Linked DNA regions of Homo sapiens: region 1 is linked to region 2. The links are contacts of gene promoters, found by promoter capture Hi-C in human tissues and cell types (Jung and others, 2019). All regions are on one chromosome and are shown on one strand. The core of a region is centred on a gene start or on the middle of the fragment in contact, and the rest is flanking DNA. Distances in the headings are between cores, read along the strand shown.

What was found. Contacts are between HindIII fragments. The study calls those that stand out against the background at their distance.
Region 1: a contact is called between a fragment that was not itself captured here and the fragment with the promoter of HYPK in region 2, in 3 of the 25 tissues and cell types used here (IMR-90 fibroblasts, dorsolateral prefrontal cortex and mesenchymal stem cells).

The regions. Positions count from the first base shown.
Region 1 is chr15:44,486,012-44,491,429 of GRCh38, forward strand. CTDSPL2 (CTD small phosphatase like 2) reads left to right here. Exons shown (of 13, transcript NM_016396.3): 4 at 540-689; 5 at 4,773-4,988. Among named protein-coding and RNA genes, the nearest start is that of EIF3J-DT, 48 kb to the right of the region's middle. The HindIII fragment of the contact is 5,338 bases long and covers 915-5,418 here.
Region 2 is chr15:43,799,349-43,805,227 of GRCh38, forward strand. It overlaps HYPK (huntingtin interacting protein K), which reads left to right and starts at 1,251. Exons shown (of 4, transcript NM_016400.4): 1 at 1,251-1,436; 2 at 1,784-1,839; 3 at 2,170-2,221; 4 at 2,363-5,079. The coding sequence starts at 1,275. The coding sequence ends at 2,458. SERINC4 (serine incorporator 4) reads right to left here and starts at 872. Exons shown (of 12, transcript NM_001258031.2): 1 at 537-872; 2 at 1-138. The coding sequence starts at 638. SERF2-C15ORF63 (SERF2-C15orf63 readthrough) reads left to right here. Exons shown (of 6, transcript NR_037673.1): 3 at 1,147-1,436; 4 at 1,784-1,839; 5 at 2,170-2,221; 6 at 2,363-3,241. MFAP1 (microfibril associated protein 1) reads right to left here. Exons shown (of 9, transcript NM_005926.3): 9 at 5,144-5,879. The coding sequence ends at 5,746. RefSeq lists enhancers at 1-669, 670-1,370, 1,278-1,527. The HindIII fragment of the contact is 6,811 bases long and covers 1-4,815 here.

The DNA of each region.
Region 1 (5,418 bases), core at 2,334-4,833, 690 kb after region 2:
TTATTTTCCCTAGCCACTCTGAGATGGCGTCTCAGTGTCCATAAGTAATTTTTGACACTGCTATATATAGCCTTTTGCTTCAGTAGAGTTATGTTGCCTCTATTCATTTCGCTGTCATTCATTAGATAGAAGCAGATGTGAGGGAAGGTTTTATGAATTAGAACCGTCCTAGAATGTAAACAAAAATAAAATTATTTGTGTTTTAGTTGGTGGGAACTAGTTTGCTTGTTTACAAAGAATTTTCTTCATTTTGTGTTATACTGTGTTGATTTGAAGCCTTTCAGTCTATAGGTGTAAATCTACTTTGAAAAAACTCAGTAAATATTAGCATTATAAACACATTGATACATAAAGAGCATTTGACTTACGAGTAATTTACCTCAATGTTTCTTTAATAAGCTTTCCTGAACATTAACATTAATTAGCTTTCGTGAAGTATTTTGAGGGAAAAAGAGTTACTTCTATAATGAATGATTTATAACACACTTCTGAAATTCAGTGTTTTCTAGATCATGACTTTTTTCTTGTTTCTTTTTTAGAAGCTGGTAGTTATGAAATGACAAATCAACATGTAAAACAAAATGGAAAATTAGAAGATAATCCTTCCTCTGGCAGTCCTCCAAGGACTACTTTGTTGGGGACCATATTTTCACCTGTCTTCAACTTTTTTTCACCAGCAAATAAAAATGGTAAGTATAAACTGTTAACTGTGATTTGGATTTTTTTTAAAAAAATGCATAGTTTGGGTTTTTTTTTTTTTTTTTTCTTGAGACGAAGTCTCTCTTTGTTGCCCAGGCTGGAGTGCAGTGACGCGATCTCCCCGCTCACTGCAGCCTCTGCCTCCCAGGTTCAAGCAATACTCCTGCCTCAGCCTTACAAGTAGGTGGGACTGTAGGTACCTGCCACCATGCCCGGCTAATATTTTTTGTATTTTTGGTTGAGACGGGGTTTCACCATGTTGACCAGGCTGGTCTCAAACTCTTGACCTTCAAGTGATCCGCCCACCTCGGATTCCCAAAGTGCTGGAATTACAGATGTGAGCAACTGTGCCCAGCAAAAAAATACATAGTTTTTAAAAAGATCTTTTTTATTTTATTAGCATATTTTGTCAATGTCTCGTGTATGTTTTCCACCTCATTAATAATATACAGCTCCTTGGGAGCTGGGTGTGGTGGCTGATGCCGGTAATCTGAACTCTTCGGGAAGCCAAGACAGGAGAATTGCTCAAGGGCAGGAGTTTGAGACTAGCCTGGGCAACATAGTGAGACCCTGTCTCTACAAAAAAATGTAAAAATTATTTGGGCGTGGTAGTGCACGCCTGTAGTCCTAGCTACTCCAGAGGCTGAGGTGGGAGGAATGCTTCAATCCAGCAGTTTGAACCCAGGAGTTTGAGGCTGCAGTGTGCTGTGATTGTACCACTGCACTCAAGCTTGGACAGCCAAGTAGGGGGTCCACGTAAAAAAAAATAAAAAGAATGGAATGGTCCTGTCTTCTGGGTGGCAGGGGTAGTGGCTCACAAAAGGCTTGAAAGAAAAGCCGAATCTGGAAAAGTGGCAAAAGCCATTCCAGGTAGAAGGAGCAGCATGCGTAGAGGCCTTGCAGCAGAAAACAGCATAGTGTATTTGAGAGCTGTTTGTAGTTTGTAATTGATGGAACATTGCATTTGAGAAGGGATAAGGTAGGAGAGCTATGAAGAAGTCATATAATAGAGCTAACATAGTAAGATGATGAACTTTATTCAAGTATGGGATAATTGAAAGTTTGTTTTGTTTTGTTTTTTTCCCCAAGGTGAAAGCAATTTTATTAAGAAAGTAAAGGAATAGGCCGGGCACCGTGGCTTATACCTGTAATCACAGCACTTTAGGAGGCCGAGGCAGGTGGATCATGAGGTCAGGAGTTCAAGACCAGCCTGACTAACATGGTGAAACCATGTCTCTACTAAAGAAAAATACAAAAGTTAGCTGGATGTGGTGGCATGTGCCTGTAATCCCAGCTACTCAAGGCAGGAGAATCACTTGAACCCAGGAGGCGGAGGCTGCAGTGAGCTGAGATCATGCCACTGCACTCCAGCCTGGGTGACAGAGCAAGACTCCGTCTCAAAAAAAAAAAAAAAAGAAAAAGGAATAAAGAATGGCTCCTCCTCCATAGGCAGAGCGGCCTGAAAGGTTTTAAACTGGTGAATAATACGATCAGATCTATGTTTTATAAAGATCACTTGGGCAGTAGTGTGTAGACTAGATTCTGAAGAGGCCATAGGCAGGTAGAACAATTAGTAGACTTGTAGTCGTTTGTGTGAGACTTGATGAGACCTTAATTGTATTAGAGAAGACAGGAAGGATCAGAGGATAGAAAATAGACACATTTTTGGTGCAGATTGGAGGTGAAAGAGAATAGAGATGAAGATGGCACAAGAGTAGAAGATTCAAGGAAAATAAAGTTCCTGGGAGATAGATAATTGAGTGTAATTTGGACCATGCTGAGTTTGAGATGCCATGAAATATTTAAATAAAAATATTCAGGCTGGGCGCGGTGGCTCAACGCCTGTAATCCGAGCACTTTGGGAGGCCGAGATGGGCGGATCACTTGAGGTCAGGAGTTCAAGACCAGCCTGACCAACATGGAGAAACCTATCTCTACTAAAAATACAAAAAAATTTAGCTGGGCATGGTGGCGCACACCCACCTGTAATCCCAGCTACTCAAGAGGCTGAGGCAGGAGAATTGCTTGAACCTGGGAGGCCGAGGTTGCAGTGAGCTGAGATCGCACCATTGCACTCCAGCCTGGGCAACAAGAGTGAAACTCCATCTCAAAAAACAAAACAAAACAAAAAAAACAAACCCCAGTAGTAATATTTTCCCCTCATGCTGAAGTAAAGAATCTCTGAAGGTGTGTATATCTCTGAAGGTGTGTACAGAAATAGATGTCTGGGGAAGAAGGAGTTGAAGTTTGATAGAGTTTTCTTGGAAGGAAGAGATGGTGTCATTAATGATAGTTCTAGTGGAAGGGACTTGGGAAGAATAGTGAAGGTTTACATTGATATTTTCTTTGTGTGTGTCTCTGTCTCTCTCTCCCCACCCCATACACACACAACCTCTCTCTCCACTCCCACATCTGTCTCTTCCCCCCTCCCCCCCACCTACCTCCTCCCCTCCCCCTGCCTTTCCCTGTCTCTGTGTCTCTGTTTTATTTGGATTATGACCAGTCTTTGTAATTGTATTTTTTGTTCCATAGCCTGCAACTAGGGTCTGAGAAGCCTGTTGGTTACGTTGATTCAAGAGGGATTTCTTGATGGATGACAGTGGAGGAATGAGGGATCAAGGATACTGAGGCTGCCAGTTTGACAGTGTATTTAAGTGATACACCACGAAGTCTAACTAGATGAGGAGGGTTGAGAAGAAGTGTTTGAGGGACGTGTTTGGAATTAAACAGACTGGCCTTTATCAAGTTTGAAGATCACATATAATGGGAGTATGAGATATATAATTTGAGGGTTAGGAGGTTGTGCTAAGTGGTTAATACAGTATTAGAATTTTAGGCTTCAGAGGTGAAGTTTCTCAGTGTTAATGTCCAGGTTATAGCTATGGTAGTAACTGATATAGAGCAGTATGAGTGAAGGTGGTTGGAGCTGAAGAGGGCAAGAACTTTGAGGATTAGTCATTGGATGAGTCATTGACATCATCTGTAATAACAACTAGAAAAAATACTGTGTTAAATAGAGCAGTAAACTAGTAGCTATGTATTAAACTTCTTTGCGATTGAGAGGATTCTGGCAGTAGATGGTAGGTGCCAGCAGTGAGGATAAGTGAAGAATTATATAGCCATGTGACATCAGTCTCAAAAGAGCAGACTTTTTTTGCACATTAGTGGAAAACCAGCGATTGGATAGTAGCAATGGAGATAAATGAATTCTGATTCAATTAGTATATTGGTATGGGAGAATAAAGAGCATTGAGGGAAGGGTATCAGAAAAACCTTTTAGGAAAGAGGTTAAACTTAAAGCAACAAGGGAGAAGGAATGTTCTGTAAGGAAGTTGAGAATATTGGAGGTTAATTTTTTTTGTTATTTTTGTTTAAAATGACATTTGGAAGATTCCAGAAGGAAATGGAAAGACCTGGGATTATTATTTTTTCTTTTTTAATTGAGACAGGGTCTTGCTCTGTCACCCAGGCTGGAGTGCAATAGTACGATCACCGTTCACTGCAGCCTTGACCTCCTTCTGGGCCCAAGCGATCCTCCCACTTCAGCCTCATGAGTAGCTGGGATCACAGATGTGCACCACCACACCCAGCTAGTTTTTATATTCTTTGTAGAGACAGCCATGTTGCCCAGGCTGGTTTTGAACTCCTGAGCTCAAGCAATCTGCTTGCCTCAGCCTCCCAAAGTGCTGGGATTACAGGCATGAGTCACCACACCTGGCCCAGTCTTTGTTATTGAGATGGAGTTTTGCTGAGAAATTATTTTTATATCTTTTAATTAAAAGGTTCTCATGATTAGGGGAACAGCTAATTTTTTGATACCTCTGGTTGAAAAATTACAATTGCACACATGACTAGGATGCAGAAACTTTGCTCACAAATGTTACTCTAGCCTGTAAGTCTTTATTCTTCATTGTTTGAAATAGCTAGCAAAGATTCTCTAAAAGCAATATACTCAGCTTTGTTCCTGCAGGAATGATCAGTCTAAATAAATATATTGTACGGTGATGCTGCATTTAGTTTTTCTAAATAGGTGCATTTTTAAATGATGATAGTACACTGAATCATGATTTCAGGAACGTCAGGATCAGATTCTCCAGGACAGGCTGTGGAAGCTGAAGAAATAGTAAAACAACTTGATATGGAACAGGTGGATGAGATCACTACCAGTACTACTACATCAACTAATGGAGCAGCTTACTCAAATCAAGCAGTTCAAGTGAGACCATCACTAAACAATGGTTTAGAAGAAGCAGAAGAAACAGTTAATCGTGATATCCCACCCCTTACAGGTGAAGAAAATTTCTTTTCTTATACATCTTCATGAGTAGTTGATAAAAAATAACAGTATTTCATATTTTTTCTTAAATGAGCACATTATATGCATAGGTTTTTCTTCCTGGAAGTTAAGAAAAAGTTAAAATTGGAAACAAAGCTTTGTCCCAAAAATCCAAAGTCATTTTGAAATTGAAATTTTTTAAAAGATTTTGACTAAGTATTAGTCATTTTACAGTTTAATTATTACTACTAATCTTATTGCTTGGAGAAATTTAATACAACTAACAAAATATATGCTCATGTTTATGAATATCCTTATTATTATTGCACAAGTCTTAGACCCTTATGTCTGAGGTCACTAGCTAGAGGCAGTCTCATACCTTCAGATTTGTTTGATTACATCAATGACATCCCCCCAAAAACTGCTTCTGTTCCTAGATCTCC
Region 2 (5,879 bases), core at 1-2,500:
TGACAGCAGGAGGCAGCAGATTGCTGAGGCCCCCACATGGAGGAGGATGTAGAACAGGCGGCTGCAAGTGGATGCGGTGAGAGAGGGCCACCTAGAGTGGCAGCAGCTGGCACAAGGAGCAGGCCCACAGCAGCACACCTGGGAGTAGAGCAGATGCAAGGCAGCGAGGTGGAGACTTGCTGAGGAAAGGCATACGTTAATGTATGTGTGAGGTTAACCCAGGAGGTTGAATTCCAAAATTTCCCCTTCCCCTTTCTTCCTTTTACTCAGGTTCTGTTTCAAGCTGATTCCAGCCATTTGGGATTGCCGCCCACTGACAACTTAGTAGGGCTTTCATTATAAGCAGGCTTGAGATATCTGACCTTTCTCTCGACCTAAACACCTGGGGCTGGAAACATGGCGGGAGAGATTTACAGATTATACCTGGGGCAACGAACCAGAACGACATTAGAGGAGAAAAGAGGCCTGTCGTTTTTATTGGCTTCTGCACGTCTTCCTCCCCAGCTTCGGCCACTCTCCCCTTCGCACCCTCTCACCTGACAGAAGGGACTTTTCACTAGGACACTGCTGCCTCCGCTGTGCTGCTGTGCCAGGCCCAGGGAGGTGCCGGGGCTGGGGCCGGCCTTGGCACCCACCATCCTTGTCCCAGGGATTAGGCTTAGGTCCACCAGATGGAAGGCAGATGAGAGCAGCAGTTGCTTCTGTCCTCAGCCCATTGGACTGCCACTGTGTTGGGGCTGAGCACCCGGTCCCGGGCAGAATGGAGACGTCCGGAAGAGAACACTGACCTCCAGGTTGCGGTAAATGCAAATGCCCTGTGAAGGAGCTTTGTCCTTAGGGCCTCAACACTGCGGCCACTCAGGCTGTTCTCTCCAGATTAGGGGGCAGTTTGTCTATCTGGCCCCCTGTGGATTAGCATTCTTTATTGGTTTAGGATTAGACGTCATTCAGGTTGAACGGAGTTCCCTGAGGTGGGTGGGTGCGTGTTTATGTGTTGAGGGGACTATTCCTAGTTTATGAGGTGGTTAAGGATATCGGTGGGGTGGGCTGGAGCGGTGTCGGGTTAGGTCTGAGAGAAGGCCTCGCACAAAACACTGTACAAACCCGAAAGGAAGTCTGAGAGACGAACCGCCTTCCTCCCTGAAGCTTCTAGAACTGGAGCAGAAAGAAGGTGTGGCCCAGGGCCAGCCCCGCCTCCTCCCCGGGCGGAAGCTGTGTCAGTTGCCGGAAGTCGGCGTGAGGTGGGGCTTATGCGGCGGCGTGGTGAAATAGATATGGCGACCGAGGGGGATGTGGAGCTGGAGTTGGAGACTGAGACCAGTGGACCAGAGCGGCCTCCGGAGAAGCCACGGAAACATGACAGCGGTGCGGCGGACTTGGAGCGGGTCACCGACTATGCAGAGGAGAAGGAGATCCAGAGTTCCAATCTGGAGACGGTAAGGTTGGCCAAGAGCATGTCGGGGCGGGCTGAGAGCAGAGGGGGGCTCTGAGGCTGTAGCTGGAAGCCAGCGCTCCAAGACGGGGTTCTGATCCCGTTGGCAGGAGGAGGCAATAGGGTAGAGCCGAGGGAAACAGCGGTCACCGGAGCGCGCCGCTTGCCTAAAGGAGCTTGATAGTGGGCTTAAGGGGACCTCAGGTGCATAGAATGGAATTAAACATAGTCCTTGCTACCTGGTAACACTTGTCATCGTGAATCCATGCATGAACCGCTTGTTTTGTTGGCCTTTTAGATTATTGGGAATTGTGGGTAGCGGTGCAGTAACTAGACCTGCCTTTCCCATAGGCCATGTCTGTGATTGGAGACAGAAGGTCCCGGGAGCAGAAAGCCAAACAGGAGCGGTAAGTCTTCAGGGGCAGCCAACTTTAACAGTTCTTCCCTCCCCGGTCCCCAGACAAAAATAAAAACCATTATTAAGCCTTTATACCGTTCTTCAAATTTATCACCAATTCCTGCAGATCTAGGCGCCACAACTTTACTCTTGTTAGCAGAAGGCCTCCTGGCAACACCTGCTGCCAAGACTCCAGGGGAAAGGAGTATTAGTGGGAGTTTTTATTTTCAATCAAGGGTTTATCAAGATTTATTTACAGGGCACTTCTGGGAATGACCCTTCCTGGGAGTTTATGGTGTTGGTTGAGAATGAGGACTAATATATTTAAATATTTTTGCAGGGAGAAAGAACTGGCAAAAGTCACTATCAAGAAGGAAGATCTGGAGCTAATAGTGAGTGGTAGTGCCTAACTAGTGTATGCGGAGGGGAGGCTATTCTGCTTAATTTGGGTTGTTTCCTGAAACAAGCGGAGTCAGTATATTTGGTGGCACATTAATGCCTGGGAACCTATGTAACATGATTTTTTTCTGCAGATGACTGAGATGGAGATATCTCGAGCAGCAGCAGAACGCAGTTTGCGGGAACACATGGGCAACGTGGTAGAGGCGCTTATTGCCCTAACCAACTGATGCGTGCTTTCTCAAATATACCTACTGGATTAATTTATGGCAATAAAATTTTTTTTTGTCTTTTTCAGTTTTATCATCTTGGGTCAAGTAGAGTGTATACTATATCCTATGTTGTGGAGAATTTATATGTTGGAGACTAACTGAATTTAAGTGACCCATTAAAATCTAGCACACCTGTATGAAAAATCAGTGTAGAAGAATACCTCATGTGCAGATGCTAGGTGGCAGGCCAGTCTCATTCATCTGACTAGCTCTCAACAGTATTCAAGGTACATCTGGAGTCTCAGCAGAGTTACTGTACTCAAATGGCATGTGTCTCCAAGACAGCTTATGAATATCTAAAAGGCCAGCTACCTGCCTAGGAGCCACTATATATATAGATAGATGTAGGTTATGAACCCAGTTCATAGGCCACCTTGAGTTAGAATTTTGGTACCTACAACATGCTTGATTTTGAGTGATTAAAAAAAAATAATTTGGCTGGGTGCTGTGGCTCACACCTCTAATCCCAGCACTTTGGGAGGTCGAGGCAGGTAGATCACGAGGTCAGGAATTCAAGACCAGCCTGGCCAACATGTGAAACCCCGTCTCCACTGAAAATAGAAAAATTAGCTGGGCATGGTGGTGGGCGCCTATAATCCCAGCTATTCTGGAGGCTGAGGCAGGAATCGCTTGAAATTGGAAAGCAGAGGTTGCAGTGAGCTGAGATCACACTACTGTACTACTGTACTCCAGCCTGGGGGAAAGAGTGAAACTCCATCTCAAAAAAAAAAAAAAAAAAAAAAGCCCGGGCACAGTGGCTCACACCTGTAATCCCAGCACTTTGGGAGGCTGAGGCAGTCGGATCATGAGGTCAGGAGTTGAAGACAAGCCTGGCCAACATGGTGAAACCCTGTCTCTACTAAAAATACAAAAAAAATAAAATTAGCCAGGCGTGGTGGTGCATGCCTGTAGTCCCAGCTACTCAGGAGGCTGAAGCAGAAGAATTGCTTGAACCAGGGAGGCGGAAGTTGCAGTGAGCTGAGATTGTGCCACTGTACTCCAGCCTGGGTGACAGAGCGAGACTGTCTCAAAAACAAAACAACAAAAAAGAATTTAGGGGCCAGGCATGGTGGCTCATGCCTGTAATCCCAACACCTTGGGAAGCTGAGGCAAGACGATCACTTGAGCCCAGCAGTTTGAGACCAGCTTGGGCAACACAGTGAGATTTCGTCTCTACCGCGCTCCCCCCACCACCAAAAAAAGAATTTAGGTACCTGAGGGTTAGAACATGGTAAGACTAGAAGATATCAAAGGTTGGGCCAGGTGTGGTGACTCATGCCTGTAACCCCAGCACTTTGGGGAGGCTGGGCTGGGAGGACTGTGTCAGGTCAGGATTTCCAGACCAGCCTGGGCAACATAGCATGACCTTGTCTCTACTAAAATTAAAAAAAAAAAAAGCCAGGCATGGTGGCATGTGCCTGTCTGTGGTCCCAGATACTCTGGAGGCTGAGATGGATTTGCTTGAGCCTGGGAGGTTGAGGCTGCAGTGAGCTGAGATTGTGCTACTGCACTCCAGCCTGGGCGACAGAGCAAGACTGTCTCAAAACGAAAAAAACCTATGAAAGGTTTTGATTGGTATTCAAATTCTAAGCCATAATACATTCTACATGCCATTTCCTATCCTAGAGAGAAGGTAATTTTACTTTAAAGGTTAATCAGGGCCGGGCGTGGTGGCGCATGCCTATAATCCCAGCACTCTGGGAGGCCGAGGCAGGTGGATCACCTGGGATCAGGAGTTTGAGACGAGCCTGGCCAAAATGGTGAAACCCCATCTCTACTAAAAGTACAAAAAAAAATTAGCTGGGTGTGGTGGTGGACGCCTGTAATTCCAGCTACTAGGGAGGCTGAGGCAGGAGAATCTCTTGAACCCAGGAGGTTGCAGTGAGCAGAGATCGCGCCACTGCACTCCAGACTGGGCAACAAGAGTGAAACTCCATCTCAAAAAAAAAAAAAAAAAAAATCAGCTTGGACCAACTCACACATGTTGAACTAGTTTCCTCAACTATAAAACTGTGACGGCCCCAGCTAGGCACAGTGGCTCAACGCCTGTAATCTCAGCACTTTGGGAGGCTGAGGCGGGCGGATCGCGAAGTGAAGATCAAGACCATCCTGGCTAACATGGTGAAACCCCGTCTCTACTAAAAATACAAAAATTAGCCAGGCATGGTGGCAGGCGCCTGTAGTCCCAGCTACTCGGGAGGCTGAGGCACTCTAGCCTGGGCAACAGAGCCGTCTCTTTAAAACAAACAAACAAACAAAAAAAAAACCCTGCAACGGCCCCTGAGTCTGCTGTAAGGACACTCAAATGGCAATTACAGACATTTCTCCAAGAGTTTCAAGGCCTTACCCTCATTCTGACTCTAGGATAATTCTTAGATTGTATCCCACACAACAGTGACTTGTACCTGTGTTCATCTTTATGTATTTACCACCTCATAGTAATTATTTGCATTCATTTTTATCGTACGACACTAAACTATTTGATTCTTCCAGTGGGACATTTAAAGGATGTGAGAAGACCTTGGTCTTCTCAAAAACATCTGTATTTGGTCATGGAATAAATCCAGATGCTACCTAAAGCCAAGCTAGTACCTGAGCTTGTTTCTGAGATCAAAGGGAATTATCAAAATGTGAAACACCTTCTGCCTGACAATTGTTATCTTTTACTTTAATAGGCAATTAATACTTGTCAGCTTGGACATTTTATTTCCAGTATCATGCTAAAAATCTCCTTGTTGTGTGATTCTTTTATTTCTTGACATGCACACATATATGGATCAAAAAGTATGTACAACTAGAAAAACGGACTCCAAGCAAAAATGGAAAACATGTTTCCATGAGCTTAGATTTCCGGGTATATTACTCCTAAACCTAAGGTAGAAGTAATGCATTGTTCACTTACATGTCCACTTTTCTAACCCAAGCTAAGGGCTGGAAAAAGAAAGTCAGAACAGTCCCAAGTAAATATGGGAAACCATAGCAGTGATAAAACCTAAGATTTCTCAGAAATAGTTTTAAGTGGGAAGCCTCTAATCCTACCTGGACAGTGCTTTCCTGTGGGTTTCTCAGCATGAGTCCAAACCTCACAAAGCACCTTCAAAGTCTGGGCTACCCAGTATCACAAGTATAGCAGTAAGTCCAATATCTGGATACAGGGGCCAAGGAAACAATGAAAAAACCAAATCAAGGACCAGATGCTGAGACTCCCCTTGTGTTCCACAGTTGGAAGAATAAGCAGTTGGACCCTAGGTAGTTTTCCGCTTCTTGGCAGATGGCCGCTCAAATACATCTCGTACCCCAGCTGCCTTTTGTTTGAAGAACTTTGTGTTCTGGGCACTCTCTTGGCCCCAAGCTGAGTCAAAGGAGGTGGTATCTTGAT